2 separate regions of the Homo sapiens genome follow, and region 1 is linked to region 2. The links are contacts of gene promoters, found by promoter capture Hi-C in blood cells and fetal thymus (Javierre and others, 2016). All regions are on one chromosome and are shown on one strand. Each heading gives the region's core, a stretch centred on a gene start or on the middle of the fragment in contact. The rest is flanking DNA. Distances are from core to core; before and after follow the strand shown.

Region 1 (5,542 bases), core at 2,760-5,259, 110 kb after region 2:
AGAGCCTCTAAGGATAAACCCATTCACCCGTGTTTCAGAGGCTTTTTTTTCCTCTTATAAAATAACATTTATACGTTCGCTGTAGCAAGGAAAACATTATAAAAAATAGTGAAGAAAATAGAAATTACCCATAATTTTGCCACACAGACTTAGTTGTGTCCATGTATCTTGTGCACCTTTTTTCTGTTTACGGATCAAAATCGACTTTTAGGGTCAGGCGCGGTGGCTCACACCTGTAATCCCAACACTTTGGGAGGCTGGAGTTGGGGTTGGGGGGTGGATCACTGAAGATCAGGAGTTTGAGACCAGCCTGGCCAACATGGCGAAACTCCATCTCTACTAAAAATAAAAGATTAGCCAGGCGTGGTGGTGGGTGCCTCTAATCCCAGCTACTCCGGAGGCTGAGGCAGGAGAATCGCTTGAACCCAGGAGACAGAGGTTGCAGTGAGCCAGGATCACGCCACTGCACTCCAGCCTGGCAACAGAGCGAGACTCTGTCTCAAAAAAAAAAATAAAAATAAAATAAATAAATACATAAATTGACTTTTAGGAGATTGGTTCAAACAATGTGTGTAATGTTGTGTCTGAGTGTTTTTCATTTATCGTTCATGCAAATTCCGACATCATTCACTCTTCTCCAGAGTGTGCTGTTTTCCTGCCTGTGTCATCACCCGTCACCTTGAATGCCCTCGTTTAGGTAAAATAAGTACATTTTATTCAAAAATATTTGAGGACATTTGGGTTGTCTCCAGGTTCTTGGTCTTGAGTTTTGCTGTTCTTGTGGAGCCATGGTGGTGTCTGGTTGCAGGAACCTCCATGCGTTCCAGCTGCTGCTTCTGCCTGTGTTCTTAGAGAGGAAATGCTGGGGTCCGCGGTTCCCGGGCTGCTGACCAGGAAGCCTGCGGTGCTTTACGGCCCTTCCAGAAGCGGGAGATGCCCCCACTTAAGTGTCAGACAGGCCTTTCCACCTCACTGGCAGCTCTGAGCGGCTCCCTTCTATTTGCAGATGACTGAGAAGTTACCAATTTCCACGTTTACTGACTGCTGTTTCTCCTGTTAATTTGTATTTATAGTCTTCGCTAATTTATTGCTAGGGTTTTGGTGTTGTCCCTATTGACTTGTATGCCTTTTAATTTTTTAAACAACATTAATAGACTTCATTTTTTTAGAGCAGTTTTAAGTTTACAGGAAAATTAAGGGACAAGTACAGAGAGTTCCTTCCACCTGCTGTCCTCCTCTCCTCCTCCCCACCTTCCCTCCTTCCCCTATTGTAACTTTCTTTCTGATATTATAAAAGTCACTCATGGCTGGGCGTGGTGGCTCACGCCTGTAATCCCAGCACGTTGGGAGGCAGAGGCAGGCAGATCACCTGAGGTCAGGAGTTCCAGACCAGCCTGGCCAACATGGTGAAACCCCGTCTCTACTAAAAACACAAAAAGTTAGCCAGGCGTGGTGGCGGGCACCTGTAATCCCAGCTACTCAGGAGGCTGAGGCAGGAGAATGGCGTGAACCTGGGAGGCAGAGGTTACAGTGAGTCGAGATCGCGCCACTGCACTCCAGCCTGGGCAATAAGAGTGAAGCTTCGTCTCAAAAACAAAGTCACACACGCTTCTTGTACGAGGGTCATTTGGCCGAGGGGCCAGATGGCTCACCATCTAGTTGGGACAGGCCATGAGCTCGGAATGCTTTTTACATATTTACATGGTTGAGAAGAAAATCAGGAGAATAATGTTTTGGGACATGGGAAAATGACATGGAATTTGCATTTTAGTGTCCATAAATGAAGTTTTGTTTGCTCCCAGCTGTGTTGACTGAGGCAGGCTGGCTTCCTACAGCTGCGGCAGAGCTGAGGAGGCGGGAAGGAGACCGTGCAGGCCGCAGCACCGAAAATATTTGCTCTCTGGCCCTTCCCAGAGTGCTTGCCGACCTCTGTCCGACAGCTAGAAGGAAGGATAGGACCCGTCCGACGATAACCACTGTTGACATTTGAGCGCGTTTCCTTCCCGGCTTTTGTGTGAGAGTGGCAGTCTGTTTGCTTTTGTGGTCGGGATCTGCTGCACGCACGGCGGGCTGTTTGCATGAGGCTTCCTGGAGGATAGGGCTGGGCTCGGAGCTGCACGCAGTGGGGCGTGTCCTGCATGCAGTGGGGCCTCAGAAGAGAGCTGTGGTGGGCGGGGCAGTGCCAATGCTGGTGGGTGCCAGGCCTCCACGCTCAGATCAGCCCCGGCGACAGGTTTGGGCCACCCTCTCTCTGGCCTCTGTGCAGTGGCCCAGGCCGTCTGCTCTGCCTGGCACACTTGCCTCTGTCCTTCCACTGAAGCGCTCCTCTTACCCTCTGCTCCCGGCTGGGTACGTTGAATTGTGTCCCTCAAGGAGATATGCTAAAGGTCTAACCCCAGGAACCTGTGTATGTGATCTAATTTGGAAACAGGGTCTTGGCAGATGTAATCAAGCGAGGATGAGGTCACCCTAGAGTAGGGGGCCTATATCCACGGTGCTGGTGTCCTCATGAGAGCAGGTGAGCAGACACTGACACTCAGGGGTGAAGGCTGCATGGAGTCAGAACAGGGCTTAGTGCGATGGCGGCCACAAGCCAAGGAACTCCAAGTATTTCCTGCAACACCAGAAGCTGGAAGATGCCAGGAAGGATCCTGCCCTGGAGCCTTCGGAGGGAGTCTGTCCCTGCAGACGTCTTGACTTTTGATTGCAGGGATGCATGTCTTAGGGTGTGTGGGGGGGTGCATTTCTGATGTTAGAAGCCACCTGGTTGGTGGCGATGTGTCACGGGAGCCCTCTGCAGGTTCTGCGTGTCCATGTGGTCGGGGACAGAGGTGGGCAGGGACGGACGGTGTCGAGCTGGACATGTCCATGACGTCGGCCATCCCTTGGGATGGCTTTTTTGTTTTGAGGATAAGGCTGCCTGCCAGGAAGCTGTGCCCTGCCTGGCCCTTGCCCCAAGCCCCTGGCCTGTGCTTGGCCTCGCGGAAGGGATGTCGCCCTTCTCTCCTGCATGCGTGCAGGGAGGAAGGGGAGAGGTCAGCAGCCCGCCTGGAGGAGGCTCGGGCGAGGGGAAGGTTTCACTTTCAGGCAATGTTGTGGGGCTGTTTAAACAACCCCAAAGAAAACCATTTGGCCAAACTGTTAGTTTCCAAACATTTTACTTCCTTGGTGTTTAAATAAATTCCTACCAAGACTCTGTAGCTGGTCCCAGGGAAGGAGTTGGCCTCTCTTCTTTATAGCCCGGCACAGTCAGTCCCCTGCACCTGCCCCTCCCAACCCCAGGCCTGCTTCCCCGTGGCCATGGCTGCTGCCCGGACCTCTCTACACACAGAACCTCCTGGAGGCCAGCTGTGGGCACCAGCCTTGGCAGGGCTGTGGCGGAGCCCAGGCTGCTGGTACTCTCTCTGCAGCTGCTCCCTGCTGGCCTGGCTGGACAGAGTCCCCACCACCACTGGGGTCACCTCTGTGCTGGTCACAGCTCACTCAGACCTTCAGGCAAATGGGTTGGATCCTGCCTCTCTCCCAGGTGTCTCAGTCTCTGCAAAACTCAAAAACCTCAGAGGCCTTGCAGCCTGAGGGGTGTCAGAGACACCTCCTTCGAGTCAGTAAACACCTACAGATTCACCCCAGCAGTGAAAGGACTGCTTCGCCACAGAGGTTTGATTTACTCCTAAGTAATTGGAAGGGATGCCGAGAATAGGTTCCTCATGGTGGGACTAGAGGCCCTCTGCTGACCTAGTTACCAGAGGGCTAGGGCTGGGTGTGCTCAGCCCCTGAAGGTTCTAGGCCCATTTGGGACACCCCGCCAGAACCTGCCACAACCTGCCATGTGGTGACAGCTACCTAAATCCCAGAGGCTCTTGAGCTGGAGAGCAGACCTCTCAATCTCAGCAGGCCCCCCACACAGACCCCATAACCCTAGTCTGCCTTCACAGTACAGTTCGTGGCTATGTGTTCACGGATGGTGTCGTTCACCTAAGGTCTCTGCCCTGTGACCCCAAGGGCGTCCTGAGGGCAGATTCCAAGTCTGTTTCGTCCACCCCTCCTTCCCTAGCAGCGGGTCCAGGGCCTGGCCTGAACTAGCTTCCCACAGAGATACTGGTGGGATGATGAAGGCAGCCAGGCGGCAAGTGAAAAACGCACTTCCTGCATGTGCTGGCTCCTGGGATTGAAGTGTTTGAGGAAGCAAAGTGAAGTGAGCTTTCCTCTTGCGGCTGTGTGTCCTTGGGCCGGGAGCCTACCCTCTCTGAGCGTTGGGGTCCTTGTCAGTAGAATGGGGCATCCTCATAGCTCAAGGGGTGGTGTGTGAAAATTGTGCTATTGTGTTACTTTAATGATTTTTTTTTTTTTCGAGACAAAGTCTCACCCCAACGCGCAGGCTGGAGTGCAGTGGCGCGATCTCAGCTCATTGCAACCTCTGCCTCCTGGGTTCAAGTGATTCTCCTGCCTCAGCCTCCCAAGTAGCTGGAATTACAGGAGTGCGCCACCAGGCCTGGCATATTTTTCTATTTTTAGTAGAGAGGGGGTTTTACCATGTTGGCTAGGCTGGTCTTGAACTCCTGACCTCAGGTGATCCACCTGCCTCGGCCTCCCAAAGTGCTGGGATTACAAGCATGAGCCACCGCGCCCGGCCTACTTTAGTGATTTCTTAGGAGGACAGAGGGAACGGGCTGGCAAGACAGGCTTGGAATGTGTTTTGGGATCAAGTGCCGGTTTCTGTCTGGCACTGGCGTTCTCTGTGGGGCCATGATGGACACACTGCTGAGGTCAAGCGTGATTCGTCTTGCGCTGTGCCTGGCAGTCTCATTGGAAAGTTCTGTAGACATCGTGTGGATGGGGCTCTTCCCGGCCAAGCCCTTGGGGACCTTCCAGGACTGTGATCTCCCCACAGTGGCTGTTAAGCAGGGACCTTTCGTGAAGTGGAGTCTCTGGTCCCCTCCAAGTCATAGCTAGACAGGGACTCGGGCATCGCCAAGCCTGGCTGATTATTCACTGGATGAGGAGACAGGCCCAGAGAGGGGCAGGAACCTGCCCGAGGTCACCCAGCAGGCCCCAGAGGTTTCGGTCTCGGATTCTCCCTGCTCATCCCTGGATGTAGTGCTGCTGTGGATGTGGTTCTGTGCTGGGGGCTGTGGAGAGCAGGGGGCTTGTGCCAGGACCCCAGTGAGGGTGGCGCCCTCGCCATGAGGCCGACTGTTGGTATGGGGCGGCCATCCACTGGGGTGTGGGGAGGAACAGCTTTCCTGAGGAGGAGGTGGCGGGAGGAACAGCTTCCCTGAGGAGGAGGTGGCGGTGCTGTGTGACCTGGGCCTTGAAGGACAGGTCCATTGTCAACAGAACATTTTGGGAGTGGAGCCTAGAGGGAGAAAATTTGTTGAAATTCAGATTCCCCTCCCCCTACCAATACACACCAAATCAGATGCCCCTGACCAGATCTAAATTTGGCTCTCAGAGATTTCCATTGTAGCTGGGCACTTGGGGAACCTTCTAAGTGCTGCCTCTGCCTCTCCCCAGCCTGCCTGCCTCAGTTTCCCCAGCCCTG
Region 2 (4,966 bases), core at 791-3,290:
TGTGGTCATCTATGTAAGTTGACTCATGATGGACAAACCATTAACAACATTTAAAATAACAGTTTCCCCTGCAAAGGCTTCAAGCCAAAATTAGGATGTGGGTCTCGGGACCCCACCAGTTATTCTCATTATTATGTGGTACAGGGAGACTGGGTAGATCAGGGTCTCAGACCATAATAGATGGGAAAAAAGAGACCCCAGGGGCAGGAGGGGAATGAGCGAGAGAGAATTAAGTTTGTATTAAGTTGGAGACCAGGGCAGATGGAAAGACGGAAGGTTAGGCTGGCACTGGGAGCTCCCTTCTTCAGGGGTCAGCTCCCCATAGGATCTGCAAGGAAGGTGCAACAGGATACTCCCTTGAGCCATGTGACACTCCATGACAAAGGCACCCCCAACTATGCCCCTGGGTGTCAACCTCCCTATCCTTTTCTGGTTCATGACCTCGAGATGCCTCCCAAGGCATCTTGTCTGAATTCTTGTGTTCCGAACCTTGGCTTGTTATATGTGGCGCACTTTATGCAAGTTACACAAAACTGGACTCCAGGCGTGGTGCTGCATGCCTGTAATCCCAGACACTCAGGAGGCTGAGGTGGGAGGATTACAAGCCCAGAAGTTTGAGTTCAGCCTGGGCAACATAGTGAGACCCCATCTCTTAAAAAAAAAAAAAAAGGGAAAGAAATAACTTAATTCTTTTTTTCTGGCATAGAGAGGTTCCAAAGACCAATCCTGAAGCTTGGTAAAGGACTACAGCTGTTACCCCCACATTCTATCAGGCTATTAAGACTCACTCAGCCGCAACATGGCCAGGCCCCCACACCAAGTTAGGCAAGCTACAGATACCAAGGAGTAGGAACTGCAAACACAAATACAGGGCAAACTGCAGGTACCTAATCCTGACACGTCACCTGGCTGAACTTTGGTAGCAGAAGCCCAAGGAACACAGACTTATGGCTTTGTGTATATAGACATTGTCCTGTAGTCCAAAGGATGTGACTCTGTGGCAGACGGGAACCTAGAACATTGGACATTTATTATATTACATTAACTACCTTGCTTGCTTCCAGGTTTCTGGAAGTTTTGGTAACACAGCTAAATACTAGGGCCTAGTTTTTGCTAAGAACGTGGGTAGCTCTGACATTCCTTTGTCCATTAGGCAGATCCACTGTATAAATGGAAACATCTGTATTTTAAAGATTTTCCTAGCTGATTTTATCGAAATGTTAGAGATTTTCCTGGGGCGAGGGATAGCTGCAAGTTATTACAGTCAGATTTCTAAGCACGATGATTATTTCTGGTGGCAAACCATGCGTGTGGAGGCCGATTCCTCCTATCAGCCTAACGATTAAGTCAACATGCTAAGCAGCCACACGGGGGCTACTAAGTGACTCGCACGGGGGAAGCAGGCAGGGAGACAGATGGGCAGGGGAGGGAATCTGGGGCAATGCACAACCTCCACCCAGGTAGAGAGAGGGTCTGGGGGATAGGTCTGTGTCACTCAAGTAAGAGCGACACTTCTTGGGGTCCAGTCCCGTCCTGGGCTTGCCCGGGAAAGACCCCAGGACAAATTCGGCCCCCTTCCAGAGTGTCCCCATTCTGCTCCCACAATGGGACAAGCCGGCCTCTTCTCCAGTCTGGGCCCCCTTCGGCCCTCCTCCCTCCTCCTGTCTCTTGGGCCCCCAGCCATGCTCGGCCCCCAGTTGACTTCTTCAGTACCTGCATTGCTCAGCGTCTTGCACTCTGTGCGTGCCCCATCCGCCGCTCCTCCTGTCCCGTTCCTCCTGCCTCTCTCAGCCCCACTCACTCTCCCACTGCCCCTCGTGCCCCCATCCAACCCTCCTCCTGCCCCCCAACCTCTGTCTCTCAGTCCCAAGCCAGTCAGGGAGCCCTGACAGCAGCTACCCGGACGGCAGTGCGAGCCCCTTACCCGGGCGCAGCAGGCCCCCGGCGGCCTGGTGGCCCTCGGACAGTAGGAAGGAGCCTGAGGCCCGGCGCGGGGACGTGGCCGGCAGCGCAACCCAGGCAGCTCCGGGCAGCGCGCCCTGCCCGGGCCCCGCCCAAACGCCGGAAATGACGTCACGGAGGGCGGGGCGGGCCTGCTGGCCGGGGCGAAGAGCGGCTGCGGCGGGGCCTGTGGCGAACGGAGGCGAGCCGGAAGTGGGGGGGTTGTCTGCTCTCAGGCCCCGCCTCCCCGGGGCCGGCTCGGGCCACTTCTTGCGCGCTGCCAGAAGGAGCTATTTTGAGCAGGTCTGTGGCGGAAGTGGGTGTTCCCGGGTCTCTGCTGCCCAGCTGTGCCCGCTGCCGTCTTGGGGTCCCGGGGTGCGCGGGTTGGGCTGGGTGAGCTCAGAGGCACCTTGTCGGCAGCCGAGCCTGAAGAGGCGACCTCGAAACGCCTCGTGAGACCTTTCGCGGGCACACGCCCTTCGCGTTCCTCCGCTTCCTCCCACGTTTCTTCAGCCCCTGGCGGGGCGCTGGGGTGCCCGGTAGTTAAGGGTGGGGTGGCAGCGAGCGTTTCTGTGCACCCGCAGCGTGCCACGCCCGTGCTAAGCACTTTGCCTATAGAGCCAGTGGCTTAATTCTGCAATAGCACAGTGAAGAACTTCGCCTCATTTTACAGACGTGGAAACAGGCTCATCAAGTGCTCTGTAATTGTAAAACCTGGGATAACAAAGGAGCAAAACGCAATTTAGAGGCAAGTGTGTGGGACTTGACTTTGGTTAGAAATAGGCTTTGCAGGCCAGGCGCGGTGGCTCTTGCCTGTAATCCTAGCACTTTGGGAGGCCGAGACGGGCGGATTATCTGAGCTCAGGAGTTCGAGACCAGCCTGGGCAACATGGTGAAACCCTGTGTCTACTAAAATACAAAAAATTAGCCGGGCGTGGTGGCGTGCGCCTGTAGTCCCAGCTACTCGGGAGGCTGAGGCAGGAGAATTGCTTGAACCTGGGAGGTGGAGGTTGAAGTGAGCAGAGATCGTGCCACTGCACTCCAGCCTGGGCGACAGAGCGAGACTCTGTCTCCAAAAAAAAAAAAGAAAGAAAGAAATAGGCTTTGCAAGTTAGTAGTTCTGTGACTGAATCCCAGTCTGTATAAGACCCTCAGGCATCCCCCGGTCCAAACCAAAACCTGTCTGCGAAGGATGATTTCACAGGAGCAAACCAAGACTTTATTTCCAGTTTTATAACCTGCCTTGGGGTCTTCGGCTAGGAAGCTAAGAGACACAGAAAGCTGAGATTGGGCAAAGACAGGATCTACCATCCACTCCGAGCTCTGGGAGCACCTGAAATGCGATTTGATGTCACCACCACCATCCCCAGTTCAACCACAGTTCATGTGTGGAATTTAACCTGCAAAGTTGGGTTTGCTGAGACCCAACGCCGGTTGGATCATGTGAAGATCAGATCCTTTCACTATGTATTTGCTTTAATTTTTCCAACTAGTTCGGATCTAACATGAAGTACAGTATTGAGGCTCACTCCAGAAGTGAAAATATACAATCGGCAGGCAGATTTTAGTTCTTTGCCTGCCCTTTTCAAAAATCAATGACTGGGCTGGGCGCGGTGGCTCACGCCTGTAATCCCAACATTTTGGGAGGCCAAGGCGGGCGGATCACCTGAGGTCAGGAGTTTGAGACCAGCCTGACCGATATGGTGAAACCCGTCTCTACTAAAAATATAAAAATTAGCCAGGCGTGGTGGCGTGTGCCTGTATTCCCAGCTACTCGGGAGTCTGAGACAGGAAAATTGCTTGAACTTGGGAGGGGGAGGCTTCAGTGAGCCGAGATCTCACCACTGCACTCCAGCCTGGGCGACAGAGCGAGACTCCTTCTAAAAAAAAAAAAAAAAAAAAAAAAAAAAATCAATGACTGTGACTCTGTTTTCATTTCCTCTTTGGCAACATAGGGACAATTTTTACTGCTGGGGCTGAAATTACAAACATAAGACACAGCCTCTCCTCTAGAGCAGCTGGGCAGCTAGACCTCCATCTGCTTGCTTTTTTTTTTTTTTTTTAGACACGGAGTCTTGCTCTGTCGCCCAGGCTGGAGTGCAGTGGCGCCATCTCGGCTCACTGTAAGCCCCGCCTCACGGGTTCACGCCGTTCTTCTGCCTCAGCCTCCCGAGTAGCTGGGACTACAGGCGCCCGCCACCACGCCCAGCTAATTTTTTGTATTTTTAGTAGAGACGGGGTTTCACCATGTTAGCCAGGATGGTCTTGATCTCCTGACCTAGTGATCCGCCCGCCTTGGACTCCCAAAGTGTTGGGATTACAGGCGTGAGCCACCGCGCCCAGCCCATCTGCTTTCTTAAATTTCTATTGGAACAGAGTCATGCCTCTTCATTAGGTATTATCTGATGATAAAAGGGCACAGTCGACTAGTTGTAGAGACTATATGGCTCACAAGTCCTAAAATATTTACTCTCTGGCCCTTTACAGAATCTATTTGCTGATCTCCAGTCTAGAGTGTTACTGATGGGTTTCTGACACAGAAATATCTGGCTGAGATGGTCCAACATACCGGGAAACTCATTCTCTCCTATGAGAAAGTCATATTCTCTGATAGCATCTTTGGTCACCTGAAACCTAGTGTCCATTGAAGGCACAGCTCTGGGAACTGCAAAACTGTTCTGTGGAGTGTTATGGAGAGTAAAGCCAGGCAGACCAGCTGCTTCTGAGGGCTGTGGATAAAATAGAGAATGATACACTTACATCCTCTACCTTTTGTTTCCAGGCACAGATCATTTCAGGTGCCTTCTGTGCAGAAATAGCTGAATAAACTTGGAGCTTGGTCTCTTTGTTGTTGAATTTACAATGTTATTTGAATGTAAGACCTTGTAGATATGACATTTGAAAGTTAGGGCTCTGGAATGGCACTGCCTGGCTTCAGATCCTTCATTTTTTTGCTAAATGACAACAAACAAGAGGCTTAGGCTCTGTGCCTCCGTTTCATCATAGTCAATTCTGGTATTTGCAG

What was found. Contacts are between HindIII fragments. The CHiCAGO score rates a contact against its expected background, and 5 or more counts as called.
Region 1: a fragment that was not itself captured here is called in contact with the fragment with the promoter of C11orf24 in region 2 in 8 of 17 cell types (megakaryocytes, endothelial precursors, total B cells and 5 more); the score reaches 17.0 in megakaryocytes.

The regions. Positions count from the first base shown.
Region 1 is chr11:68,378,545-68,384,086 of GRCh38, forward strand. All of the region lies in intron 5 of LRP5 (LDL receptor related protein 5), which reads left to right. Among named protein-coding and RNA genes, the nearest start is that of LRP5, 69 kb to the left of the region's middle. RefSeq lists enhancers at 1,874-1,963, 1,994-2,043, 2,344-2,393. The HindIII fragment of the contact is 4,863 bases long and covers 1,579-5,542 here.
Region 2 is chr11:68,269,933-68,274,898 of GRCh38, forward strand. It overlaps C11orf24 (chromosome 11 open reading frame 24), which reads right to left and starts at 2,041. Exons shown (of 4, transcript NM_022338.4): 1 at 1,925-2,041. LOC105369363 (a long non-coding RNA gene) reads left to right here and starts at 2,170. Exons shown (of 3, transcript XR_950248.3): 1 at 2,170-2,244. RefSeq lists silencers at 1,839-2,238, 4,118-4,177 and an enhancer at 2,150-3,004. The HindIII fragment of the contact is 7,211 bases long and covers 731-4,966 here.